3 separate regions of the Homo sapiens genome follow, and regions 1 and 2 are each linked to region 3. The links are contacts of gene promoters, found by promoter capture Hi-C in blood cells and fetal thymus (Javierre and others, 2016). All regions are on one chromosome and are shown on one strand. The core of a region is centred on a gene start or on the middle of the fragment in contact, and the rest is flanking DNA. Distances in the headings are between cores, read along the strand shown. Region 1 has its middle 640 kb from the start of PTCHD4. Region 2 has its middle 56 kb from the start of ADGRF1. Region 3 holds the start of OPN5 (opsin 5).

Evidence for each region. Contacts are between HindIII fragments. The CHiCAGO score rates a contact against its expected background, and 5 or more counts as called.
Region 1: a contact is called between a fragment that was not itself captured here and the fragment with the promoter of OPN5 in region 3, in 2 of 17 cell types (M2 macrophages and M1 macrophages). The highest score is 7.0, in M2 macrophages.
Region 2: a fragment that was not itself captured here is called in contact with the fragment with the promoter of OPN5 in region 3 in 1 of 17 cell types (total B cells); the score reaches 6.1 in total B cells.

The regions. Positions count from the first base shown.
Region 1 is chr6:48,744,101-48,748,493 of GRCh38, forward strand. No RefSeq gene overlaps it. Among named protein-coding and RNA genes, the nearest start is that of PTCHD4, 640 kb to the left of the region's middle. The HindIII fragment of the contact is 210 bases long and covers 2,267-2,476 here.
Region 2 is chr6:47,096,065-47,100,336 of GRCh38, forward strand. No RefSeq gene overlaps it. Among named protein-coding and RNA genes, the nearest start is that of ADGRF1, 56 kb to the left of the region's middle. The HindIII fragment of the contact is 419 bases long and covers 2,500-2,918 here.
Region 3 is chr6:47,780,692-47,784,838 of GRCh38, forward strand. OPN5 (opsin 5) reads left to right here and starts at 1,341. Exons shown (of 7, transcript NM_181744.4): 1 at 1,341-1,505. The coding sequence starts at 1,376. The HindIII fragment of the contact is 3,260 bases long and covers 1-1,508 here.

The DNA.
Region 1 (4,393 bases), core at 1,122-3,621, 960 kb after region 3:
ATCCAAGGATCAGTGAGAATGTGCAGCAAATGGAGCTTTCATACATGACTGATTCGAATGTAACATCTTAACAGGAATAGATAAAGAAAGAATCAGTGGTGCATCCATAAAATGAAATGCTGTAACAAAGTATCACAAACTAAGTGATACTTTGCTACAGCAGCCCTAGAAAACTATTACAAACATCAAATGTATGTGTTTTGACAGATTTATATTTATTTCATTTTTGAATTTTTCTTTTCTAAGGTTTTAATATTTCCCTAATAAATGCAGAATATTTCGTTTGTCTCATATTAGGACAGGAATTTCTCAAATTCATAATTTTTTTTTGATATTTCAATTAAAAATACTGTTATTTAAAAGGAAAAATGAAATGCTCTGAATACAAAGGAATAAAATATTGTTACACACAACAGCATAGATAAACCTTAGACTAATTAGGCTGAGAAAGTCAGACAGAAAAATGCACGCACTGCATACCATTTATATAAAACTCCTGGATGTCCAAACAAATTCGTGTGACAGAAAGAAGATTGGTGGTTGCCTGGAGCTGGAGGAGTGGATGAAGAGGAGAAGCAGAAAGAAAAAAATGTACACAAGAGAAATTTTGAGGCTAATAGTTACATTCATTATCATGATTGTTTTATTGGTTTTAAGGGTTATACATAGGTCAAAATGTATCAAATTTTACACTTGAAATATGTACAGTTTGTTCTATGTCAATTATATTACATTAAAGCTAGCTGAAAATAAGGAGAGAAGAACATTTTCTTTTTGCACTCTGATTACAGTGTGGAGACTGGACTGTAGAGAGAAATAATGGAAGAAAAGGGAGAATTTTAGCATGCCTCCAAATTCTTCTCAAGAATATGGTAAGCAGAGGTTATTGATTGTAGGTGTGTATACAGAACTGAGAAATATATTGAGGTAAAGCAAAGGTAAAGATAAAGTAAAGCCCTCAATGTTAGATTGGAAATGGGAGGTAAGGATAAGGTAGAAGAAAGATTAAAGCATGACTCAGATTTGTCTTGCTCAACTGGAGGAATTGGGATTCTTTTCTATGCTGTAGAGAAACCTGGACTAGGACCAAGTTTCTAGGAGGAAACTGTTCAATTCAGTTTTGGAAATGCTGAGTTTGAGGCTTGCTTAAAGCCTCACAATTGAAGGAGTTGAGTAGAAGTTTGGGCAAAGAAGCATAGTTTGGAAATATAAATTTGGGATTCATTAGACATTTGATGGAATATTAAGCTTTAAAAATTAGAGAGAGAGGCAAATGAAAGTTTTCATTAGAAAGAGAAGAGACCCATGAAAGAGATTAGGCAATTTCTAATCTACAAAGAGAAACCGACAAAAACACTAAGAAGTTTCTATAATTTATAGTGACCATTTATCAAATTTGTACTAAATGAAGGAATGAATAATGATTTTTATGAAAAAACATTCAAATCAAAAACATTGCAAATCAAAACCACAATGAGATACCATCTCACACCAGTCAGAATAGCTATTTTTAAAGAGGCAAAAATTAACAGATGCTGATGAGGTTATGGAGGAAAAGGAACTCTTATACACTGTTGGTGGGAGTGTAAATTATTTCAACCATTGTGGAAGACAGTGTGGTGATTCCTCGAAGACCTAAAGACAGAAATACGATCCAACCCAGGAGTCCCATTACTGGTTATATACCCCCAAACATGCAAATCATTCTATCATAAAGTCACATACATGCATATGTTCATTGCAGCCCTATTCACAGTAGCAGAATCAACCTAAATGCCCATCAAAGATAGACTGAGTAAAGAAAATGTGGCACATATACACCATGGAATATTATGCAGCCATAAAAAATGAGATCATGTCCTTTACAGGGACATGGATGAAGCTGGAGGCCACTATCCTTAGCAAACTAATGCAGGAACAGAAAACCAAATCCTGAATGTTCTCACTTATAAGTGGGAGCTAAGTGATGAGAACACATGGATGTGTGGGGAAAACAACACACACTGGGGCCTTTCAGAGATTGGAGGGTGGGAGGAGTGAGAGGATGTGGAAAAATAACTAATGGGTACCAGGTTTAATACCTAGTTGATGAAATAATCTATACAACTAACCCCCATGACGTAAGTTTACCTATGTAACAAAACTTCATATATACCCCTGAACTTAAAATACAAGTTAAAAATGATTTTTTAATCAAAACCCTATCTTATCATGTTGGCATTTACTCAGTATTCAAAATAATTTTTAATGCGTATTGGTATTTTTAAGCTTTATTAACCACCCATTGGAATGTTATTCTTCCTACATCTCCATTCATGTAACTAACAATATTGTTAGAGATGACATGTGCATCCAAACAAATGGCAGGTTAGTAGACTTACGAGCAATAATCAATATTTTTTTTCTAATCTGTTCCTGGTAGTGTGCATTTAGAAACAGGAAGTCTTCTATTTCACATCAGTAATAGTAATAATAAAGCTTCAGTGTAAACATTTGTGAGTTAAGAATCCCCGACCGAGCGCCGTGGCTCACGCCTGTAATCCTAGCACTTCGGGAGGCCGAGACGGGTAGATCACGAGATGAGGAGATCAAGACCATCCTGGCTAACACAGTGAAACCCCATCTCTACTAAAAATACAAAAAATTAGCCGGGCGTGGTGGCGGGCACCTGTAGTCCCAGCTACTCAGGAGGTTGAGGAAGGAGAATGGCGTGAACCCGGCAGACAGAGCTTGCAGTGAGCCGAGATCGCGCCACTACTCTCCAGCCTGGGCGACAGAGCGAGACTCCCTCAAAAAAAAAAAAAAAAATCCCCTTGGTTTCAGTTTGTAAAAAAAACAGAATTTTCTTAAAACAACTGAAATCTTACACTAGACCTACAATTGTGCAATTAACAGAACACTATCTTTTGTGGAAATTTTCTTTGTGGAATTTTCTTTTCAACATTTTTTAAGTTCTGAGGTACATGTGCAGGATGAGAAGGTTTGGTACATAGGTAAACCTGTGCCATGGTGGTCACACTGCATAGTCTTGATGGAATTTTGAAATACATTAGCTCATACTATTGCCTAACAACTCTAAATAAATATTTATCTTTTGACTTTCCTTTTTATAACGTGAACCTCAAAAATATTGCTATAATTAAACTACTTGGCTCAAGGGCATTTTCTTACAACTGCATTAAAGTTCTCATAAAGTTTACATCATGTAGCTTTGCATTACAAACCCTTCTCGGTTTCTCTTGGGTTCTGTATTGCATCACTAAATCTCACTTCATTCTTCCTCTTTCTACTTAAACCCCTTCACTTACAATTAGACATTTGGTTATAAAATTGTCCTAAGACTTTTTTTTAACATTATCCCAATGTCATTTCCAATTTGAATGAATGTCCTTGTGTGCTGCACAGCCTTTTATCATCAGTATGCACCCATACTGGCCAACTATGTCAGAGAAAAAAATTAAGACATCAAAGATGGGAAGAATTAAATGAGGGAGGTGGAATTTCCTGCACTGGCAGGGATGAATCTAGTGACTGCCTAGGTTTCTAAGTTTCTGTATTTATACTTTGCCTCCAGGAAATTCTCTAGCAGTTAAGCACCTGACTTTATCCAGGGACACATCTAAAAGACACACACACTGAGGTCACTTGACTGTCTTTCACAGAGTCTGTAGGGAATTTATCCTTAGCTTATGAAAAAAGTACATGAAGTTTTGGGAAAAGGTAAGTGCTGCAAGTAATATTTAATACTCCAACATTATTATCAACCATGAGGCTTGTGTATCAATTGATATATAAGCAGAACTAAGGTGAGAAAACAAAATTTCATTAAAATGTTAATATAGGTCTATTGATTCACTTTGTCTTCTCACATTTAATTGGGTGTTTTATTTTTTAGTATATAGATCAAGAGAATATCGAACCATGATTTTATTGTAAAATACAGTTCCTTTTTTTTCTTTTTGTTTCAGGCTATTATCAATAATTAAGTTTGGTGGGGAGATAAAAATAGGTTTTCACAGGTGTAGCCTAATAAAGAGGAATTGAAAACAGGACCAGGAACAAGTTTGTAAAACTTACAAAAGGAGATTAATTTTGATATGTCTGTATAAGATATGCTGCAGTACTTCTGTTACATAATATGCAGATGTCTACTACACAAAGCTAGTACACAGCACAGAATTATGTAAGGTGCTTTTAGTTTCATCTATCCCAATGGATAATTTACAGACTATTAATTCCCAAACTAATAATTTACATGGTCCCCTTACTATTTTGAAATAAAATTTATTGAAAATATATCCTGACTACACAGATATTATCTTAAAATTAATAAAGTCTTAACTGTCATAAAAATCAGAAATAAAAAAATGCCTTAAACATAAAATAATGTGAC
Region 2 (4,272 bases), core at 1,459-3,958, 680 kb before region 3:
AAACTTGGGATCATTCTAAGGAACAAGCCTGCCAAGCACTGCCTCTGAGCATGATCTTACAGATGTACTGAGTTTCACATTGTTCTTAAATTCTATAGATGATACACCAGCTTTATGTTTAGCCATGCTTAGTATCTGAGAAGGGTTGAAGGCTGCTGGAAGGATGTACATTAGCTCCCTGGCATTTCTGGCTTGCTATGTGCATGGCCACAAAGGGTTTCTCTCTCCACAAAAAGCCAGAAAACAAATGGACACAGACGCTGACAGTTGCAAACTAAACCAACAAGCTCAGAAACGGTAAGACTTGAGGGGATACCGGGGGGTGCACCAACATCTGTTTCAGTTACCACATCCAGGCCTCAGGCACAGGAAGAGGGCAAAGATCTAGTCATCAACATTGTGGCTACAGCACGGTGACTGAGACTTAGGAACAAAATCAAAGCCCAGTTTTCCAAACAGATGATGAATTCAAGCCAGATTAGCAGCAAAGTGTTCCTAGACTTGATGGTTTTTCTGAGCTTCCTAAATTACTTTTGCTTGGAAGAAAAAGAAGAAGGCTTAGAGTCTGGGAATCCTCCTGCTTCTGTCCGCCCTGACCACAGGCACAAGATCCCCCAGGCACACCCTGGTGGATTGTGCTGCCACTTCATTTCCTTGCTGCTGACTCTGACCTCAGCTCTTAATATGGAATGTCCTATAGAAGCTACTCGGGAGGCTGAGGCAGGAGAATCTCTTGACCTAGGAGGCGGAGGTTGCAGTGAGCCGTGATCATGCCACTGCATTTCAGGCTGGGTGACAGAGCGAGGCTCCTTTTCAAAAATAAAAGAAGAAATGACAGGTTGGTTGTTTAGAAATAAACCCAACCAAAGGCTCAAAGAGGACCAGAGGATAGAATTCCCCTTCTTAAGGAAATTAGTGAAGTTAAAGTTGAACCCAGCACAAAGTAGGTGGTAAAAAAATGTTAGGCCATTTTCTCCCAGCCCCTGCCGCCACTGACTTGGGGCTGCAGGGCAGAAACAGAGCCACAGAGCCATTCTGCATCTGCTCTCTAAGCTCTCCTGTAACTTTTATCTTAATAAAGAAAACACAGACAGTCAATTTGAGTCCTCCAGTGTGTATTTGTACTGCCTTTCCATTGGGAAATTCTCCCCACTGTTGAAGGGTTGTTGCTGAGGCCCCGTTGGACTGAGACAGTTAAACAGGATGGAACATGCAGGAAGGACGGCGGGGAACAAATCAGCATCATGAGGATGAATTCGAGGAACCAACTGGTTTCTTCATCACTTGCCCAGTGGTTCCATGACATTTCACACTCAAGGTCACATAAGGAAAAATATTTCCTCCAAAGTCCCCTAGACTTTGTCTTTAATGTACTTTGAGGCAAGCACTTACATGAGAAGGAACAGGAGCAGAAAACTCTTTGTCCTTTTATTCTCATGCTTTTGGCTTCTCTGACTTCAACCTGCAGAGGGCACTGATCCTCAAAGAACCGGAAGACCTAGGCCTGGCATTGCAGAAGGCCAGCTGTTCACCCTGCAGGGAGGGGAAATCCTGAGCAGTTCTCTGCGAATAATTTATATGATGGAATTTAACCAGAGACCTTATGAGCATTTATAAATGGAGTCTTTTCCCCCATATATTATAAGGAAGCTCCCAAACCATGGCTCATGCTGTTCATTCCTTCCCTTTAGAGATGTTTTCCCCACCATCCTATCATTAGCACTATGCCTCTAATAGACTTTCTCTGGAAACTAACCCAATATTTCCTGGTTACGTTCAGTATCTGAGTAACATCAGAAAGCTGAGAGAAATCTGGGACCCAGGAGCCAGTCCAGAGATTTTCAAGGTCATCGGGAGGTGATGCTACATGTTACCAAACACGGACATGAGTTTACAGACTAAAAACCTGATTTGACATCCCACCTCTGTTTCTTATGACCTTGGGCAAGTTATACAACCACACTGCAAGCTTACCTGTAAATGGAAATTATAATTAATCTTGTAATATTGTGGCATGTCATCATTTCATTTGGGTATGTAAAAAGGTAGCATTGTACCTAGCACAAAATAAGTGCTTTGTAAAGCTAGTTCTTTTTTTTGCCATCCTTCTCTCTATCTTTAATGATACTATACAGGATGGCATGATTTCTAGGCGAAACTTTCTAAAGAAGTTTCACCACTTTCTTGAATTCAATATTTGCCCCCCTAAAAAATAAATTTTTTTCATTTGTCTGGCATTCCCTCAAACAACAAGGAAGAGTAAAGGCCACTTCAGAGTCAGAAAGTTAGCTAACCAAGAAGCCCTAGGGCTCTCTTCACTCTTGTAACTCTGATTCCTACAGAATTGCGGGGAGTGGGTAGAGTCTCCAGGCCAGATCAGTCTATGGGGGATGAGTGTGGAAACTAAACTTAGCAGGAAACTCTCCTATAATGTGAGATCCCCCAACCCCATGCCTACTTCAAGTGCCTAATGTATTTCAAGGATGATACAAAGAGCCAAGCTTCATAATGAATCAAGAAAGTTCAGAAACAAATCTCAAGTAAATGTGCCCTCTTCGTATCCCGAGATGCTCCCCAATGAGTCACTGAGCTAATCTCATGGAGCAGGTCCAGTTCTAAATCTTGAGATTGCTAGATCCTTGCCCTCAATTATCTTTCTGTCTAACAAGGGAGACAAGGAATAAACAAGCAATTACAACATAGTGAAATAAGCACGGTGCATTTTGAGCCAAGTGTCAGATGTCTAGGACTAAAATTGTAAGAGATGGGGATCTGGGCTATGTTGAAGACGGCTTACATCCTTCATCACTTGCCGTATTTGGATGCCAAGATGACTTGTGGTGTTGCAATTCCCTGCCTGTCTTATCATGCAACTTCTGTGCCGCAACTTATTTGTAGTAAGCAAGGGCTAGAAATTAAGCTTAGGATAACACAGGGATAGATGTAACCAGAACCTGAATCATAGAATAATGTGAAGAAAAAATAGTTTAATCTTTTTTTCAATGTGGCTTTAGAATTTCTGAGGCTGCCGTACTAAATCGGAGGTATTTTTAAAACCTGGCATTTATCAATCATCCCAGTTTGCCTGGAACTGTCCCAGTTCTAGCACTGAAATGTTCATGTCCTGGGAAATTGCTCAGTCCAGAACAAATAGAACAGTTGGTCATCCTAGCTCTGTTCTGGGCATAGAAGCACCAGCAGAGCACAGAGAAAATGTACCATCCTAGTGCTAAGGCCTGAATCAAGAATGTCTAAAATCATAAACACTCGATCTACAAGGCCCACGTTGCTTTCTGAGTATGAATGGGAAGATATGTAATATTTAACAAATACATTGGTAAGTCATGAATGAATACGAAACTACAAGAGTACAAGAAATTGTGTTTTTTTGTTCTTGACAAAATTGCCTGGAACATAGGCTCCCAAGTTTCCAAGAGTGAGTGGAATTTACGTTTTCCTTGGTAGGCTTAACAAGAGAGCAAAAAGGCTAATAGCATAGGCATTGAGAGAAGACAGATCTAGCTTCAAATCATGGCTTTATTGCTTACATGCTGTGTGACCCAAGGTAAATTTCTCAATCTTTCTTTACATTAATTTGCTTTTCTTTAAAATAATAACACCTACTTTGAAATGTTGTTCTACAAATTCAAATAAAATTATCACAATGTATGGAATATAATGAGTACTCAAGAAATATTAACTACTATCAAAAAACAAAAGCAAAAACAAAACCTGGCATTTTGTTGTCCCTGGGGGTACCAAGTAGAGACAATAAGGAGCCTTAGCTCAGAGCAGCTGCGCACAGTGGCTCATGCCTGTAATCCCAGCACTTTGGGAGGCTGAGGTGGGCGGATCACCTGAGGTCAGGAGTTCGAGACCAGCCTGACCAACGTGGAGAAATCCCGTCTCTACTAAAAATACAAAATTAGCCAAGCGTGGTGGTGCATGCCTGTAATCTCAGCTACTTGGGAGGCTGAGGCAGGAGAATCGCTTGAACCCAGGAGGCAGAGGTTGCGGTGAGCTGAGATCACACCATTGCACTCCAGCCTGGACAACAAGAGAGAAATTCCATCTCAAAAAAAAAAAAAAAAAGAGTTACACAGTTCAGGAAAACAATTTTGTTATGAAATATTAGTAATACATATTTAGACCTATTTCCAGTCCCATTTTATTTTCATATGTTCCCATGGCAGAAAAGGACCTTGGGCTGAATGTCTTCATTTGCTCCTCCAGATTCACCCTCCATCTTCCTTTGTTCTCTGTGCCTGGTAG
Region 3 (4,147 bases), core at 91-2,590:
GCACATGACTGTCCTCAAACTGTGTGTAGGAGACTGTAGTTTCAGCCAACTGGCCACTGAAAGGGTCACTAGCCTTCCTCTGTAAGCTGTAAGTTGGCAGTTAGAAAGGGGTTAAATTCATGTCTTTTGCGAAGGTGAATTACATGGTTAGATATGTGCCGATCACCCTGTCACCGCCTGTGGGGCACACAACTCTGTGTTCCACTTGCTGTCTCATATAATGCCCGAAATTGTTGCCTAGAGAGCTGAACAGTGACATCTGTTGGTTCGATTTGAAATAGGCAAGTTCAAAAGAGAAACAGCCACACTAGTATTTCTTCCCCTTTCAAAACAAATAGGAACAATCATGACAAAGGAATGACCCTTCCAAAGGAAGTTTTAACATCAGCAGCATACTTTATCTGAAGAACAACACACGACTCCAAGTTTCAGGATGAGGGATATCATGTGACTTTTATTTTTGCAGAAAGCCCATCAAAGACTTTGTGTAAACCTTTTAAAACTCCAATTCAAAAGAAACAGTACTAAGACCTGTGTATCTGAGAAATTCCTCAATGCTCAAGATTTCATCCAGAAGCATAAATGAGCAAATAGAAAGTATGGATTTGGGGCAGTGGTGAGAAATAATGAAATTGCTTTCTGCTCTAGGAAACTTGAGAAACAAACCTTCCTGTGGATGTGCCTGTGAGTTACAACCCAGCTTGAATCCTTTCTAAATAGCTCCAAATTTCAAGATCACTTTGACAATCACCTAGCTCTTAGCTTCAATTAATTAAGTGTCCATGTTCCTTTGTACTGAATGCTCTATTTCTTTCCTTACAAAACTCTAAACCTCATTGAATGTACAATGGAAATGATTTTCTGGGAAATCTGGATAATCAAAAAATACTATATTCTGACAAGTTATATATATACATATGTAAATTTTTTATATATTATATATAATTTATATACATAAATTATATATATATAGTGTGTGTGTGTGTATGTGTGCACACTCCATACAATATCATTTCCTGCTCAGACCTTTACAAAAATTGCTAAGAAACAGTAAATTGCACAGTTTGGCCTTCAACCTTTTAATCACCCCAAGGAGAAAAGAAGTGGCTCAAAGAGTAGCATGAGAAAACAGAGGAGAAAATGAAGGCTTGGATAATCTGCCAACCGAATAACTGAGTAATGACATAATTGGATCATTGAAAAAAATGTTAAAATTTTTACCAGTTATTAATTAGAGAATCATGCATGACCCTGGGAACTTGCTTTTTGTTTTAAAACAGGAGCCACGATTATGAAATGGTTCAAGCTGGCTTATTCAGGTCTGCTGAGATCTCTACTGGTTTGCTTTTCAGATCCCTCGTGGTTCGAGAACAGAATGGCGTTAAATCACACTGCCCTGCCTCAGGACGAGCGCCTGCCCCATTACCTTCGAGATGGGGATCCTTTTGCTTCCAAACTTTCTTGGGAAGCGGATTTAGTGGCTGGCTTTTACCTAACAATAATTGGTAAGCTTCCTTAATTCTTCTGTGCAAAGGCTGCATTTAGAAAATTCATGGGCTGATATGTTAATTTTGTGAAAGGATTCTGATACTTAAGTGGATAGTTTAGTGGAGGCGAAGAGTGGGGAAAGGCAGAAGATGGAATGGCATTATGGCATTCAATAAATGTTTCCTAGAAATGACTCTTTATTATCATTATTATTAGGAATAAAATTCCATTGATAATCCAAGAACTCTTACAGCAAAATTATTTATCCATTTCATTTTGGTTACTTTGGGAGTAGATTTACTTTCTGAATACCAAAATTAATGATAATGATATTTTATTTAAACAGAGTGCTTTTTAAATAATGTTTTTGACATAATCATAAGTTTTAGGTTGAGAATGGGCCTTAAAAATAATCTAGGTCAGTCTCCTGTTCTCACAACTGTGCAAAACTCAATTGTGCTATTGTGCTATAGTACTATAGTAATGGCAGAAACACTGAGTTTACTTCACCTAAAAGTAAAGTCGCATCAAAATAGCTAAGCCATTTTGGTGACAGTTGAAAAATGTGTTGGTGATAAATGGAAGAAAGTCCGGGGTCAAAAGATTTTTGTGCATAATTGACGAAAGGGTGCACCTGCTTCTAGACTGCATGATCTCATTCATTCAGTAGCCACATGTGGCTTTTCCAAATTGAAAGTTGCTGTAGTGTAAATACTCACCAGATACTGAAGGCTCAGTACAACAAAAAGTGGTATAAAATATCTCATTAATAATTTTTAAAAATTAAATACATGTTGAACATACAACATTTTAGGTATGTTAAGCTAAATAAAATATATTATTAAAATTAATTTACTGTAAATTTTAAATTTATAAATTAAATTTTTACTTTGTAAATTTTTACTTTGTTTAATGTGGCTACCAGAAAATTTTAGAATCCATATGTGGCTCGCATTTCTGGCTTACATTACATTTATACTGGATAGCACTAATCTAGACAGTTAGGATTTAATTTAACCACCTATTTAAATTTAAGAAAAGAAACCATACTTTTCTTAAATTTAAAATTGTTGTTTTAACTTTGGGTGACCAGTGTGAAGGTGGGTTATGTCTTTAGGTTTGTTTGCCTTTAATTTTTTCAGATGTTGGGTCAAACTTGCTCTCTCTCTCTTTTCTCTTTGTTTCTATCTTTCTCTTCCACCCTTCTTCCCTTCCTCCCTTTCTCTCTTTTTCTCCCTCTCTCATCTATTTATTACTGGCTAAGAATTTCATTTAACCTCCTGAAAGTAGCAAAACTCATTAGAAAATACTTGATATCCCTCTATGGTCAGTACTTGAGGCAAAAGGAACTCATGTGATTCAACCAAATTCTGCTGTAAAGTGATTCCCTGGGTCTTTGTCTTTATTGTTGTTAGTGTTTTACTAGTTTAAATTCTGTTTCTTATAAATGAGTCCCCATCTCTTTTCAACATAAATATATATTGAGCGCCCACTCTTTGCCACTGTTTTAAGTTGCTGGGAATAGAGCAGAGAATAAAATGGGCAAACATTCTGCTGGAACAGAAACTGTCTTATCTCTGTAAAATCCACATTGCATTTTTATTAAACTTAAGTACTTTCAATTAACAGAAAAGGCAGAAAAATAAGCAACTTGATCAATTGTATTTAGCATAGCTCCATCACTTTCAAGGAATGAATTAAAAAAGTAACATCAATAACCTGACAAATCTCTCCAGACAACACAAAACAGAGAGGCCTATCAGTCCATTCCCAATCTTAAGCAGGGAGGATTGCAGGAGGATTGCAACCAGGGTGAGGAAATCAGGAGAATTTCCCACCTGATACACATGGAGTTGGAAGGAAAGTCCACAATCATATTCCAGTGGGTTTGCTGAGATGGAGCCAGAAAAACAGGTTGAAAAAGAGTCCCTGGACAGGGGGAGCTTCAGGAGGATCAGGGCACTAGGAGGTGGAGCCAATGGTATGTTAGAGAACAGTCACGCAGGGTGAGGAGAGGGGTCGACTGGAGGGGTTTGGACTCACCCTAGATCCACTTCTTGGACTTGGCCGTGTGTCTGGTTTTCACTCTCCTAGAATAGGCTAGTGTAGATGTTGCAAGATTCCTTTTTTTTTTGGACATAGAGTCTCACTCTGTCACCCAGGTTGGAGTGCAGTGGTGCGATCTCGGCTCACTGCAACCTCCATCTCCCAAGTTCAAGCAATTCTTGTGCCTCAACCTCCTGAGTAGCTGGGGCTACAGGTGTGCACCACCATGCTTGGCTAATTTTTGTGTTTTTTAGTAGAGACGGGGTTTCGCCATGTTGGCCAGGCTGGTATTGAACTCCTGGCCTCAAGTGATTTGCCCACCTCAGCCTCCCAAAGTGTTGGGATTACAGGCGTGAGCCACCGCGCCTGGCCAAGATGTGTGTGTCCAGATTGCTTTTAAGGAGCCAGAGTGGAATAAACATTCTTGGTGGGCTTTGTTAAATACTAGAAGTCTTAAGAGACAATGGAAAGATAACAATATAAATCTGAGTTTGAAATACAGGAGACATAAATTACAAACCCATTTTCTACCTTCCACACTTTTACTATTATTGTAAATACTGAGTTTATTAACAGTTAATATATATGATATTTTTGTATCCATAAATGATAT